Linked DNA regions of Homo sapiens: regions 1, 2, 3 and 4 are each linked to region 5. Evidence: promoter capture Hi-C in 16 types of primary human blood cells and fetal thymus (Javierre and others, 2016). All regions are on one chromosome and are shown on one strand. The core of a region is centred on a gene start or on the middle of the fragment in contact, and the rest is flanking DNA. Distances in the headings are between cores, read along the strand shown.

Region 1 (2,775 bases), core at 238-2,737, 200 kb after region 5:
GAATCGCTTGAAACTGGGAGGCAGAGGTTGCAGTGAGCTGAGATTGCACCACTGCACTCCAGCCTGGGTGACAAGAGCAAGACTCCATCTCAAAAAAAAAAAAAAAAAATCCAGTCAGAGGGTCCACTGCTCACCACTAGACCACTGCAATGTTGGGTGAGGACTTACAACTTCCAGATGGCAGACAAGGTGAAGGAGATGTTGACATGAGTGGCGACACTGTAGTTGGTGACTGGACCAATAGCCTTTCTGTCAAACACTGCTTGAAAGGCTGCAGGGTCCACCCTGTGCTGGCCAAAGCCTGGGCAATTGATAATCAAAGTGTCGCCATTTCCTGTAGTGAGCAGAGACTGAGAGAGGAGGGCCAGGGCTGGGGGGCCTGGAGAGTGTTTCTGCATGGAGAGAAAACAGGGGGCACTGGGAGAAGCATGTGAGCTCCTCCTTCCTGGTCCAGGAAGAGTAGGCTGAGCTGGTAGGCAAATGGTGGAAACTGATGAGGTGAGCTGAGTCAAGGATCCATCCTCAGTGCCATTGTTTTGTCCCCATGCAAAACCTGTCCAGATGTGTATGCAAACTCAACCCCGACCGCCACTTTACAGTGTCCTGCCATGTCCTTAACAATCTCACTGCAACCTCTCCACCTTCTGCCAGTGTCCTTCTCTTGCTTACCTCCAACCTGGAGCCATGTGGGTGATGTCAGTGACAAATTTTGCACTCACAGTTCTCCGCCTCGCTGTATTAATATGGCATAGATGCTAATAAATTAATGATAAGGGGAGTAATCAGATAGGTAGTGTGAGATATATGGGATCTTAAGGAAACAAATCAATTTCAGTTTTTCAATTTGATGAGTATTTACTGTGTCTTTACTATGTGCTGTGATTGTTCTAACATTTAGTAGTCTTCATCACTAGGATTATCTTAAAGAGTTCCCAGGCTGGGCTCAGGGGCTCACGCCTGTAATCCCAACACTTTGGGAGGCCCACGCGGGCAGATCACCTGAGGACAGGCATTCAAGACCAGCCTGGCCAACATGGTGAAACCCCATCTCTACTAAAAATACAAAAATTAGCCAGGCACGGTGGCAGGTGCCTGTAATCCCAGCTACTTGGGAGGCTGAGGCATGAGATCGTTTGAACCTGGGAGGTGAAGGTTGCAATGGGCTGAGATATTGCCACTGCACTCTAGCCTGGGTAACAGAGCGAGACTCCATCTCAAAAAAAAAAAAAAAAAGAAGAGAAAAGAGTTAACTAAATATTAGGATCCTAGGAAGAGGTACAAAGCCATCAGTGTCACGAGCATCATTTTTACCATAACGAACATCCAATCATTGACTATCTCAGAATAAAAAATATTAGCCTGTTTTCTCTGCTTCCCAGGAGTTACATGTCTGCTCAGCTCTTGCTCTTATCTTAAGGTACTTGCAGCAGCAGGTGGAGGATGAAGCCAAGGAGGAATCCTTTCCCATGGAACCAGCCTCTTTCCATCTTCCTCTCTTTGGCACTTCTCTGGGTACTTGATGATGATGTTAACCTTTAAAAAACCTCAGATCACACCTTGAGCCCTACCTTTGAATAATATATATATCAGCTGGCATTAACCGCCTCTCTAACAAGACCCCTTGGTGACAAAAGAATGTCACAGAGGAATAACTCACCCTGTGCTTTAACTGGGCCTGAATCTAGCCTCCAAAAGTAATATGGCAAATCAGTTTGGAGAAGAGGAAGCAAAAATATGTGGTCCCTGGAGCAGTGCTAATGGCTTCCTCATACTTTAAAGTCACTCTGGCGTACAGTGCCTCACCGAGAAGGCATGGATGACTACCACTGCCTCCAGGTGGCACGTGAACTTGTTAGACCCTGCTGTCATCTTTCTTTCTTTTCTTTTCCTTTCTTCTTTCTTTCTTTCTTTTCTCTTTCTTTTTCTTTCTTTCTCTTTCTTTCTCTTTCTCTTTTTCTTTCTTTTTTCTTTCTTTCCTTCTCTCTCTCTCTCTCTCTCTCTCCCTCCCTCCCTCTCTCTCTCTTTCTCCCTCCCTCCCTCCCTTCCTTTTTTTTTTTTGCGACGGAGTCTCCCTCTGTCTCCCAGGCTGGAGTGCAATGGTGCAGTCTTGGCTCACTGCAACCTCCGCCTCCCGGGTTCAATCGATTCTCCTGCCTCAGCCTCCCAAGTAGCTGTGATTACAGGCGCCTGCCACCATGCCTGGCTAAGTTTTTGTATTTTTAGTAGAGACGAGGTTTTACCATGTTGGTTGGCTGGCCTCAAACTCCTGACCTCAGGTGATCTGCCCACCTTGGCTCCCAAAGTGCTGGAATTACAAGCGTGAGCTACCATGCCCGGCCCCCTACTGCCATCTTTCAAAAAAGAAAGCGTGTTGGGGGGAGGGGGGTCCCTATTAATATAAGCAACTTCATACACTGAGGTTTTAAACATGACTTCAGTATAGTTAAGACTTTAAAGTATGAGGAAGCCATTAGCACTGCTCCAGTGATGACATATTTCTGCTTCCTCTTCTCAAAGCTGATTTGCTATGCCTTTTTAGTGTTTCAAAAGCAATCTGGACCCAGGTCTACCCAATGAAGGGAGTGATTAGTGGAGTAGGGGGTGGTGGCAGAGGTAATACTTTTTTAAAATAAAAGCTGACTTATGATTTTTTTTTTTAAATGGAGTTTCTCTCTTGCTGCCCAGGCTGGAGTGCAATGGCGCGATCTTGGCCCACCACAACCTCTGCCTCCCGGGTTCAAGCGATTATCCTGCCTCAGCCTCCCGAGTAGCTGG
Region 2 (2,700 bases), core at 144-2,643, 240 kb after region 5:
AAAGCATTGATTTTTCTCTTTTTCTTCTTTTATTTTTTTATTTTTTATTTTTTTTTTGAGACGGAGTCTCGCTCTTTCGCTCAGGCCGGAGTGCAGTGGCGCTATCTTGGCTCACTGCAAGCTCCGCCTCCCAGGTTCACACCGTTCTCCTGCTTCAGCCTCCCGAGTAGCTGGGACTATAGGTGCCTGCCATGGCGCCCAGCTAATTTTTTGTATTTTTTTTTAGTAGAGACGGGGTTTCACCGTGTTAGCCAGGATGGTCTCGATCTCCTGACCTCGTGATCCGCCCACCTTGGCCTCCCAAAGTGCTAGGATTACAGGCGTATATGCTTTGAAAGCGATGAAAATCTCACCTTATTCTCTGTTTTAGCTGCATCCCAGAGATGTTGATGTATTGCAGTTTCATACTGTTTAGCACAGAATATGTTCTGGTTTCCATTTAATGCCTTCTTTTTATTTATTAATTTAAAGAGATAGAGTCTTGTTCTGTTGCCCAGTCTGGAGTGTAGTGGTGAGATCAAAGTTCACTGCAGCCTCAAACTCCTGAGCTCAAGCAATCCTCCCACCTCAGCCTCCTGAGTAGTTGAGATTATATAGGTACAAATTGTCATGCCCGTTTGATGTTTTCTTTCACTTACATTACTTAGAAGTATATTGCATAATTTCTGAACATTCAGATATTTTAAAAATCTTTGTTACTGAACTCTAATTAAATCCTAAAGTGGTCAGAGTGCATGTATACATGATGTCAGTCTTGAGATTTGTTGAGGTTTGCTTTATAGCCCAATGTATAGTCCATTTTGGCAATGTATTTGAAGTGACATTTTTCAGATCTTTTGTCATCTTCTGAAGCTTTGGATATCCAAATAAGGCTGGTCCCTGTAACATTCTGTACCTACTCTGTACAGATTCCCAGTTTCTACTCACTTAAAGTAGGTGTGCTTGTATTTTTAGTGTATCTTTCTCTCTCAATCCAGGAGGTTTTTTCCTTCCCCTTGTGATTATATGCAGCTCATAGGTAAGAAAAACCTTTGTAATGTACTTAAATCTCAGCAGTCCTCAGCTCATTATCAAGTGCCGTAGTCCCTAACCACTAAATTAAGTGTTGACCTTATACATAAGGACTTCATTTAAGAGCGAGTTCGTTCTTGTTGTTGACTCCTGTCATGTTGTACCATTATTCTCTTGAAACTGGTCTGACTTGCCTTTGACAAAAGGAAAGGAGTGTGCTTTGCAGGGCTATGTGCTTTCCTAATACCAGAAGTTATCTAAAGATACTTAACTGTGCTGTGAACTAAAGCTATTGTGTTTGATCTGCCCAGGCATCCAGCTGACTCCTGTATACAAAATTCTACCCGTTCAGTTCTGTTAATGTTTAAGTTCCCGCTGTTCTTTGGTGGGAAAGGAGGTGATGTATAAAAATCAACTGCTTTGTATAAGGCTTGGTGTGTTAGGTGCTAAACCACTTAACTTTTTCTTGATTTGGGGATCTATTCTCCTTGTTTTTTTGTTTGTTTGTTTGTTTTTTGTTTTTTTTTTCCTTCTTTTAGAGACAGAGTCTTGCTCTGTCACCCAGGCTGGAGTGCAGTGGTACGATCATAGCTCATTGCAGCCTCCAACTCCTGGGCTGAAGTCATCCTCCTGCCTCCATCTCCCAAGTAGCTGGTACTGCAGGCACGCATCACCATGCCTGGCTGATTTTTTTTTTTTACTTTTTGTAGAGATGGTGTGTTGCTGTGTTGCCCAGGGTGGTCTTGAACTCCTGAGCTCAACCGATCCTTCCAAAGTGTCAGGATTACAGGCGCGAGCCACCATGCCCAGCTGAGATCTGTTTTTTACTGTTTCACAATAATTGCTGGAAATATTTGTAATAATGTGACTTTCACTGCTAAGACAGAAAAGGAAGATAAGGAAATTGAGGAAAATGAAGCTTCTGCTTCTACAACAGGAAAGCATAAACGTTTGAGTTACTTTTAGAGTAAACGGGGGATAAGTGTGTCTAGATTCTTGACCCACCCTCTTCTGCCACAGTCAGACTTAGAATGCACTTTTGCATGCACTTTTGTTAATCTAATGAACGAACATTTATACACTTTCTAGTTAGTAAATACGTGTAACTTTATATTTCAGCTCATGAGATCCTTTGCTGCGTGCTGCAGGGAAGTGTAGAGCTCTTCAGCTGTGCAGCCAGGATAAGAACTCACGTTCTGTTCTCCCTGCTGCTGCTGTGACAGGGGAGGCACGTGTACATCCAGGCTCTTTCTGTGTGGCAGGGCTGTTTAATTGGGGCTGATGGAAATTTTTGTCATAGGAAATGGGCAATCAGATTTTCAGTTAGTAGTGAAATAATTGACTCTCAATCCATATTGGGAAACAGAAGATAAAACATTTGGTAATAAAAATGTAAATTTTAGAACATAGAACACAAAGAGTGGTCCATAAGCTGGGCGCGGCAGCTCACACCTATAATCCCAACACTTTGGGAGGCTGAGGTGGGCGGATCACGAGGTCAAGAGATCAAGACCATCCTGGCCAACATGGTGAAACCCCGTGTCTACTAAAAATACAAAAATTAGCTGGGCATGGTGGTGCACGCCTGTAACCCCCCTACTCGGAGGCTGAGACATGAGAATTGCTTGAACCGGGGAGGCTGAGATTGCAGTGATCCAAGATCATGCCACTGCACTCCGGCCTGGGCAA
Region 3 (2,700 bases), core at 90-2,589, 220 kb after region 5:
CACGTCTTTAATTTCCGTTGGAGGCTAGTATGAAAGGTGTTTTCTCAGCTTGTCTCTGGGAGGCTGTGACCCTTCTTAGAGGGGGGAAACATTTTGGAGAAGTATGTATGTGTTTTTTGTTTTTAAGTGACCTGAGTTGATACAGCATATTGATTAGACTTAGCCAGGCAAGCAGTGGTTTAGAATAGAGTTTCAGGTAAAAACTAGGTAAGACTTAGTAATACAGGGTGGAGAATTTGTTTTTGTTATTGTTTTTTACTAACAGCTTTGTTGCCATAGGATTTATATGACATGAAATTCACTCTTTTAAAGTATAAATTCAGTGTGTTTTTTTTCAATGTATTCACTGCATTGTGCAACCATTACCACTATCTAGTTTTAGAACATTTTCAGTACCCAGGGAATTTGTGTTTGAAGTTAAGTTATAACATTGTTTTAACTGGATAACTTCATGGAGCTTTAAAATAACACCAGCTAACCCATTAGTTAATTATAAAAAGGCAGAGATGGAATATATCATTGGTAGAATAAGTGTTTGGTAAGTTTTTATTTAGTAAAATTTAGTAGAAGAAATGATGTCCACTTTAAAATTGTGGAGTTTTTAATACTTGGGACAAACTGAAATTGTTTCTAGAAAGTCTTTAAAAAAAAAACCAACCTTTCTATTGTATACACTGGATTTGAGCTTAGTTGAAGAGAATGGGTGTCTCTTTACTAGTGTGTTTACTGTTTCTAATTTTTTTTCCCTTAGAGTTGGGAGAAGGTAATTTTTCTTGATTCTCTTATACTGAATCTTTTTCTTTAAAAAAATGAAATCAAAATCTTTGAACTTTTTTTGAAAATTAATTTTTGTAGCTATAACAGTAGAAAGCTTTAGTACTTTTGCCTTTTTTTTTTTTTTCCTATTTTTAAGGCACTTGAGCTTATGGTTAAGTACTGTTTAGGAAATAATCTATTTCTTGATGAATTTTTAATTTCAGGAATTCTGATGTGAAACTAACAGTCTGTGAGCCCTGGAACCTCCACTCAGAGAAGATGAAGGATATCGACATAGGAAAAGAGTATATCATCCCCAGTCCTGGGTATAGAAGTGTGAGGGAGAGAACCAGCACTTCTGGGACGCACAGAGACCGTGAAGATTCCAAGTTCAGGAGAACTCGACCGGTCAGTTTCCTTTCCTAAGAGTCTCTTACCTGCTTGTTGTACTAAAACACATCTTTTTTCGTATAATGGGTAATTTAGAAACTTATTTTTTGGCCGGGCGCGGTGGCTCACGCCTATAAACCCAGCACTTTGGGAGGCTGAGGCGGGTGGATCATCTGAGGTCAGGAGTTCGAGACCAGCCTGACCAACATGGTGAAAACCTGTCTCTACTAAAAGTACAAAAATTAGCCAGGCGTGGTGGCGGGCGCCTATAATCCCAGATACTTGCGAGGCTGAGGCACGAGAATCGCTTGAACCCAAGAGGCGGAGGTTGCAGTGAGCTGGGATCATGCCACTGCACTCCAGCCTGGGCGATAGAGCGAGACTCAGTCTCAAAAAAAAATGTGTTTTTCTTTATTGGCTTTAGGTTACTGTTAAGAATTTATGGTTATTGATAAGTCTCTGGTCCATAGTAAGCACTCAATAAGTGGAAGAGAGGCTGGCTGTCACCCTCTCACCCGGTCTGTTCTGAGCATTCTCCTCTTTTTCACTTTTATTCTATGTTGGTGCCTTCTGAAAAGGCTATACTTAACAGAAGACAACTTATTGAGGGGGAGGGGGTCATGGGGTCAATGACAGGGAATATAAAGCCAATTAAGCTTCATTCATGTACCTAAACAAAATTGGTGTTTTCTTCTACTTTCTGTCATGTGTGTTTAAAATGTGAACCTGGCCAGGCACAGTGGCTCATGCTTGTAATCCCAGCACTTTGGGAGGTTGAGGTGGGTGGGTCACTTGAGGTCAGGAGTTTGAGACCAGCCTGGCCAACACGGTGAAACCCTGTCTCTGCTAAAAATACAAAAATTAGTGAGGTGTGGTGGTGGGCACCTGTACTCCCAGCTACTCAGGAGGGAGGCAGGAGAATTGCTTGAATCCAGGAGGCAGAGGTTGCAGTGAGCCAAGATCACGCCACTGCACTCCAGCCTGGGCAACAGAGTGAGACTCCGTCTCCAAAAAAATAAAAAATAAAATAAAATGTGAATCCTTTGGAGAGACTCAGATTTCAGAACAATTCTAGATAGTTGTGGGATTATCAGTATGTTTTTCAAGCGAATTCATAAGTTAAGCAGTCTTTAGATAATAATCTAATTTCCTCCAAGGGAAATAATGAAGATGCGTTTTTACCTCGAGAAAATATTCTTTTTCCTGAGGAAAAAAAGCATTATACCTTTTCTTACAAAAGTACCTAATAAGGCAGAATGGACTAGGTTTAGGAAGTTGAGGTTTTTGTTGGTGTATTTGTTATGTGAAAATTTGAGAAAGATAATGGACTTTGCAGCTGACACTGGCCTTTCCTTAGCCTGATACTACCTTTCCCTCTTTGGTTGTGTTAAAGCCATTGCTTTATTAATGAACATTTTCTTGCTAATGAGTCTTTTCTGTACCCTACTGTGTATTATAGAATGCTTTTCCATTCAGGTTTAACTTCAGAGAAACAGGCTTAATGTAATCAGTGTCAAATGCTTCTCGTGGTGCCAGTTTTATAACTTCCTCATG
Region 4 (2,700 bases), core at 117-2,616, 130 kb after region 5:
AAGTCATGGAATAATCTAACGAGGAGAGATGACAGTTATTGGCACTTTTACCAAGTGCCAGACACTGTGCTTCCCTCCTTCTCTTACTGAATCCTCACAACCCTGCAAGGTAGGTTCTGTTTTACAGATGAGGAAACCAGAGCTCAGATAAGTTAAGCAGTGCATCCAAGTTTATAAAACTAGCAACGTGAGACACCAAGATTCAAACCCAGGTCCACCTGTCTCCAAATCCCATGTTCTTGTCTCTCTACCATGCTGACCCCCTGGAAGAGAAGCACATTCTACTTTCACCCTTGACCTGCTGCCTTCTGGCACCTTACCTAACCTAGAGCCCTTGGATCCAGCAGATGGACAGGGAAATTATGGCTAAAGGAGGTGGGCACTTTGCTACAATGGTTTGGGTTTCATACCTGTAGAGAGAAAGAATTACACCTGTGGATAGAAAGATGGATGGATATAGAAGCTAAATACAAGAGAAGACGATCGTGGATGGTTGTCTTCCATGTAGGGTACCAATGGAGAAAAGACAGACTTTTCAAGTAGTATTGGGAAAACTGGATATCCATATGTGAAAGGATAAAGTTTGCTGGTGTTGAACTCTATTTTTCGAGAAGGAAAATGAAAGTGCTCTTGTTTGGCATGTAACTGGAAGGGGATTTTCCGTCTTTCAGAAAAGGAAAGTCTATGTGGGCATCTTAGTAATGTAGCTATGAAAGAACTCTATCCATCTTAGACAATCTCTAGGAGTTGGAAATTTGAAAAAAGTTCCTAGATGTTCTACTAGAGAGAGGTCCTCCTTCTTCCGCCTTCCCCCATCATTGCTCCTTTCTTACCTTGAAGCAGAAAACCGAGAAGGAGGTAGAAGGAAAATCTTTTCCTGTGGAACCAGCTTCCTTCCATCTTCTTTGTCTAAGTTCTTCTCTGAACATGTACTGGGACCCAGGAATGCCCAGATTAAAGCAGCACAGGCCACACCTAGAGTCTGACTTTGAATACTAATAGCATTGGTTGACCACTGACATTTGTAACCTTCCTTCAAAGAGTGTTCTGGTTGTCTTGTTCTTGCCTATGCTTAAGGTTCAGTCTGCTTTTAAGACTTTATCTTAGTCTTAGGTATTTCACTGCAACGTAAATGGTTATAGATAGTTCATACGTGATCAACTTGCAGATCTTGGTGAGATCCCTTGGTCTGAAGACTCATCTCTTCAATTTTGGAAAATTCTCAGACATTTATAAATGTTTCACTTCCTCTATTTTTCTTATTAGACATGTGTTGAATGGTTTCCTTCTATCTTACATGCCTTTTATTGCTGTTGTAACAAATCACAAACCCAGTGGCTTAAATAAACACAATTTGTTATTTTACTGTTCTGTGGGCCAGAAGTTTGAAATGGGTCTCACTGGGCTAAAATGAATGTGTCAGCAGGACCGCATTCCCTCTGGAGGCTCTAGAGGAGAATCCATTTCCTTGCCTTTTCCAGATTTTTTTTTTTTTGAGACAGGGTTTCACTCTGTTGACCAGGCTGGAGTGCAGTGGCGCAATCGCGACTCACTGCAGCCTTGACCTCCTGGGCTCAAGGGATCTTTCCGTCTCAGCCTCCCAAGTAGCTGGGACCTCACAGGTGTGAGCCACCAAGCTTGGCTATTTTTTTTTTTTTTAGTAGAAATGAGGTCTCGCTTTGTTGCCTAGGCTTGTCTCCAACTCCTGGCCTCAAGTGATCCTCCAACCTTGATCTCCCAAAGTGCTGGGATTATAGACATGAGCCATTGTACCCGGCCTTTTCCAGCTTTTAAACTGCCTGTATTTCTTGGTTCATTATTTTTACTTCTCCATCTTCAAAACCAGCAACATCAGGCCAATGTTTCTCACAAGGCATCTCATCTCTCTGGTTCTTATTTGTTTCTCTCTCCTTCTTCCACTTATAAGAGCCTTTGTGATTGCATTGTGTCCATTTGGATAATCCAGGATAGTCTCCCCATCTCAAAGTCCGATAATTAACAACCTTAATTCCATCTGCAACCTTAACTCCCCTTTTCCATATAACCTAAGGTTCCAGAGATTAGGATGTGGACAAATTCTGGGGGCCGTTATTCTGCCTAGCACACCTCTCTTTCCTATTTTCTACCTCTTTATCTCTGTCCCTAATGATTTCTTCAGATCTAGCTTCCAGGAAAAAAATTCTCTCCTCAACTGTGTTTATTTTAATTAATTAATTAATTAATTTTTGATGAAACTCAGTAATTTTTATTGCAACTGGAAGACAATACATTGCAGAAACTTTATGGTAGGTCTGGGGAAAAGTGTTATTTACAATAGATTATGACATAATTTGTCTTTGACAATATGATTACATACGAAGAATGCAAAATGCAAGTATGGATGCCTTCCATATTTTATTTTATTTTGAGATGGAGTCTCATTCTGTTGCCCAGGCTAGAGTGCAGTGGCGTGATCTTGGCTCACTACAGCCTCCACCTCCTTGATTTGAGCGATTCTCCTGTCTCAGCCTCCTGAGTAGTTGGGACTACAGGCTTGTGCCACCACACCCAGCTAATTTTTGTATTTTTATTAGAGACAGGGTTTCACCATGTTGTCCAGGCTGGTCTTGAACTCCTCACCTCAGCTGATCTGCCCACCTCGGCCTTCCAAAGTGCTGGGATTACAGGAGTGAGCCACTGTGCTTGACCCTCAACTGTGTC
Region 5 (2,796 bases), core at 261-2,760:
CCCAGCACCTGGCGCAGGTCAGGTGCCCAGCCCACGACTGCTAAATACCAGGATGAGCCAATGAATGCACAAGGCAGTGCCCGGAGGAAGGCGGGGGACGGGCGGAGGCCGAGCGGATGCGGGAGCCTGAGCTGCGCCCGGCTTTCAGGAGCGCGGGTGCGGGCGCGCGGAACTCACCCTGCGCGCAGCGGCGGGGCGTCGGGGTCCCCAGCCCCGGGCCCAGAGCGCGGCAGCAGGCGGCCTGCGAGCGGCGCCGGCTCTGCAGCTGGAAGGAGACGCGCCGTCCGGCGGCCTCGGCCTCGAAGCCGGACACCACCTCGGCCTCGGCCAGCGGGTACACGAACACGCCTGGGGAGGGCGGCGGGAGGCGGCGTCGGACCCTGCCCGGCGCACCCCCCGCCGCGCCCGCGCCCCACCCGGGCCTCACCGTCCACCGGCTGCGGCTGCGGGTTGCGGTAGGTGAGCCGGGCCCGCACGCTGAGGCAGGGGCCGTTGGCGCAGGCCCGGACCCAGGAGTCCGTGAGCGGCAGCGGCGTCCAGCTGGAGGGGCAGTACAGGCCGGGCATGGCGCCGGGAGGCCGGCCCTGCGGGAACGGGCCGGGGAAGCTGGGCGCAGGGTGACGGGACGCCCACCCCGCGCTCCAGAGGCCAGCGCGAGAGTCTCACTCCAGCACCCGGACGGGGCCTGCCGGGGCGCGAGGCCGAGCGGGAGCTCCTGAGGGCGACAGGTGGCGGGGGAGATAAGGGGGCGGCAGGCGTGGTGGCGAGGAGGGCATCCTCACGCGTTACCTGGGCAGCCGGGCCGCGGAGGGTTAATGATTAACGCGCGCTTCGGCGCCCAGCAGTCCCGCCGCGGCTCCCCCGGGGGTGGGGGCGGTCACAGCTGTTCCACCGCCCACTCCCAACCTCGCAGCCACCCCCGTACCTGCCGGCCCCCCGGGGCCCCCCGCGGCCGCCAGCTGTCGGAAGCGGCGCGGGTGGAGATGGAAGATGCTCCGGGAAGGCGGAGGTTTAAAGGGCCCGAATCCCCCCGGAGGCCCCCGGCCCTGCGAGGGATCGCGGGGGCAGGGTGGATGGGGCGCCGAAAGGGCCTTGGTCTTTCTCTCCCTGGTGCCTCATCCGACGGGGGTGCTGGCCGGAGTGGAGGGGTTAAGGGTGGGAAGAACGAGCTGGGAAAGCGAAAAGAGGGGGTCTTTGGGAGGCAAGCCCGGGAGAGGTGTCGGGCCAGGGAGAGTCCGTGGGAGCCGCCAGGTTACCGCTCCCTACCCCGGCAGAGCTGATGTGGGAGGAGGGGGCACCTGCAGTGGCCGCGGCCCGCGCAGGGGATGCCGCGGGCTGGCTCTGGGGATCGCCCCGCTCCCTGTGGCAGTCTCAGCCTCACCGTCGCGCCCTCCGCGGAGTTCTAGGTGCCCACGGGATCCGTGTGGGTGGTGCCGCCTCTGCGCTCCGGGTGGCCCTCGGTCCCGGCACCTGCCGGCCGCCAGTTCGTGACTGTGGCTGCAGCGGCTCTGAGTCCCGGCAGGGGCGCGGGCCCTGCCGGCGGTGGTCCCGCCCCCGTTCCGAGAGGCCGCCCCTCCAGCCTGCCCTGGCCACGCCTGCTGCTGCTGCGGCGGGGCTGGCGCTCCCCCCTCCTTCGGGCGCGGTACCGCCTCCGCGCCAGCCGCGGCAGCCCGAGCCAGACTGGGCACCGCAGTGCAGGGACCGCGTCCCCGCCGCCGCACGGATCCCCGTCACTGCAGGACCGAGGCCTCAGAGACCCCACCCTTTCCATTCTTCAGGAATCAGGCGTCCTGCAAGTGCCACCGACACTGCCGCGACCCCAGCTATCCCATTACCACGACGGCATCCCATTCCCCAGCCCACCCCACCCCCTGCCCTGGGTTGCTTCCCATCGCTGCAGAGACCCTCCCTCCTGACTGCAGCGAACCCCCCAGCCCCCCATCACCGTCACCGCAGGACTCTTCCCCCAAGAAGCTGGCCCCTTTCCTTTGCAAAGTGCTCTTCATCACTGCAGAAAACCTCCCCCATCCCTGCAGGTACTTTTAGTTCATGCAGCCACTTCAGTGACCACTCACTCCAAGCAGGGATTCCTCATCACTGCAGCGACCTCCTCCCACCCCCAAGCAGCCGGCCTTGGCATCGCTGCAGTGCCAACCACTTCTGCTGGGGTGGGAGGGTGTGCACAATAGCGCCCTCAGCCTATAACCCCTTGGTCTCTTCAGCTGTGCGGGCCTTGGGAGTGAAGCCTTCTAGCCTGAAGAGCCTTCTTATGGCTGCAGACCGTCCCCTCATAGCAGTGACCCCCACCCATCACCGCAGCCCTGAAGAGAAAACATCTCTGCTTGTCAGGAGGGCCCCTTGTTATTGGCAGACTTTGCATGTGCTTGACAGTGTTATGCTGTCAAAAAGTAGGAAGGTCCGGAAAACCTCTCCCAGGTCCCCCAAGGAAGAGTCTGAGAGCCCTGGGGAAGTGAGAGGAGATGACCATGTTTGGGGATCATCCATGTAAGCTTTTTGGCAGATGCCATACTGAGATTCTGCAGAGAGAGCTTGAGGAGAGCTGGGGATGGAGGACAGCCAGTAGGAAGTGAGCTTTCGAGTCGGGCCCATGGTTCTCACTCCTCCGCATTAACTCTCTCCTTCTGATTTCAATCACTATCACCAGGGATCATCCCCCCGGGGGATCCCTGCCTCCTTGAGTATCTGAGCCCTCAACCCCAACCATCTCCTTTGCTCACCCTACTTAGCATGGTGGAGAGAGCTTGACCTTTTCCCAGGGAATTTCATGGGTGGAAA

What was found. Contacts are between HindIII fragments. The CHiCAGO score rates a contact against its expected background, and 5 or more counts as called.
Region 1: the fragment with the promoter of HTR3D here is called in contact with the fragment with the promoter of VWA5B2 in region 5 in 4 of 17 cell types (megakaryocytes, endothelial precursors, M1 macrophages and 1 more); the score reaches 6.5 in megakaryocytes.
Region 2: a fragment that was not itself captured here is called in contact with the fragment with the promoter of VWA5B2 in region 5 in 1 of 17 cell types (M1 macrophages); the score reaches 6.7 in M1 macrophages.
Region 3: a fragment that was not itself captured here is called in contact with the fragment with the promoter of VWA5B2 in region 5 in 1 of 17 cell types (endothelial precursors); the score reaches 6.9 in endothelial precursors.
Region 4: the fragment with the promoter of HTR3E here is called in contact with the fragment with the promoter of VWA5B2 in region 5 in 9 of 17 cell types (endothelial precursors, M1 macrophages, M0 macrophages and 6 more); the score reaches 11.0 in endothelial precursors.

Annotation. Positions count from the first base shown.
Region 1 is chr3:184,030,454-184,033,228 of GRCh38, reverse strand. It overlaps HTR3D (5-hydroxytryptamine receptor 3D), which reads right to left and starts at 1,487. Exons shown (of 8, transcript NM_001145143.1): 1 at 1,422-1,487. The coding sequence starts at 1,487. The HindIII fragment of the contact is 12,637 bases long and covers 1-2,775 here.
Region 2 is chr3:183,990,146-183,992,845 of GRCh38, reverse strand. All of the region lies in intron 2 of ABCC5 (ATP binding cassette subfamily C member 5), which reads left to right. Among named protein-coding and RNA genes, the nearest start is that of ABCC5-AS1, 15 kb to the left of the region's middle. RefSeq lists an enhancer at 2,273-2,700. The HindIII fragment of the contact is 1,078 bases long and covers 855-1,932 here.
Region 3 is chr3:184,012,728-184,015,427 of GRCh38, reverse strand. It overlaps ABCC5 (ATP binding cassette subfamily C member 5), which reads left to right. Exons shown (of 30, transcript NM_005688.4): 2 at 981-1,164. The coding sequence starts at 1,036. Among named protein-coding and RNA genes, the nearest start is that of ABCC5, 3.8 kb to the left of the region's middle. The HindIII fragment of the contact is 931 bases long and covers 874-1,804 here.
Region 4 is chr3:184,095,730-184,098,429 of GRCh38, reverse strand. HTR3E (5-hydroxytryptamine receptor 3E) reads right to left here and starts at 1,366. Exons shown (of 9, transcript NM_001256613.2): 1 at 834-1,366. The coding sequence starts at 900. All of the region lies in intron 2 of HTR3E-AS1 (HTR3E antisense RNA 1), which reads left to right. The HindIII fragment of the contact is 4,461 bases long and covers 1-1,639 here.
Region 5 is chr3:184,228,299-184,231,094 of GRCh38, reverse strand. VWA5B2 (von Willebrand factor A domain containing 5B2) reads right to left here and starts at 1,510. Exons shown (of 20, transcript NM_001390846.1): 1 at 1,382-1,510; 2 at 428-715; 3 at 178-348. The coding sequence starts at 566. RefSeq lists a silencer at 1,403-1,742. The HindIII fragment of the contact is 8,832 bases long and covers 1-2,512 here.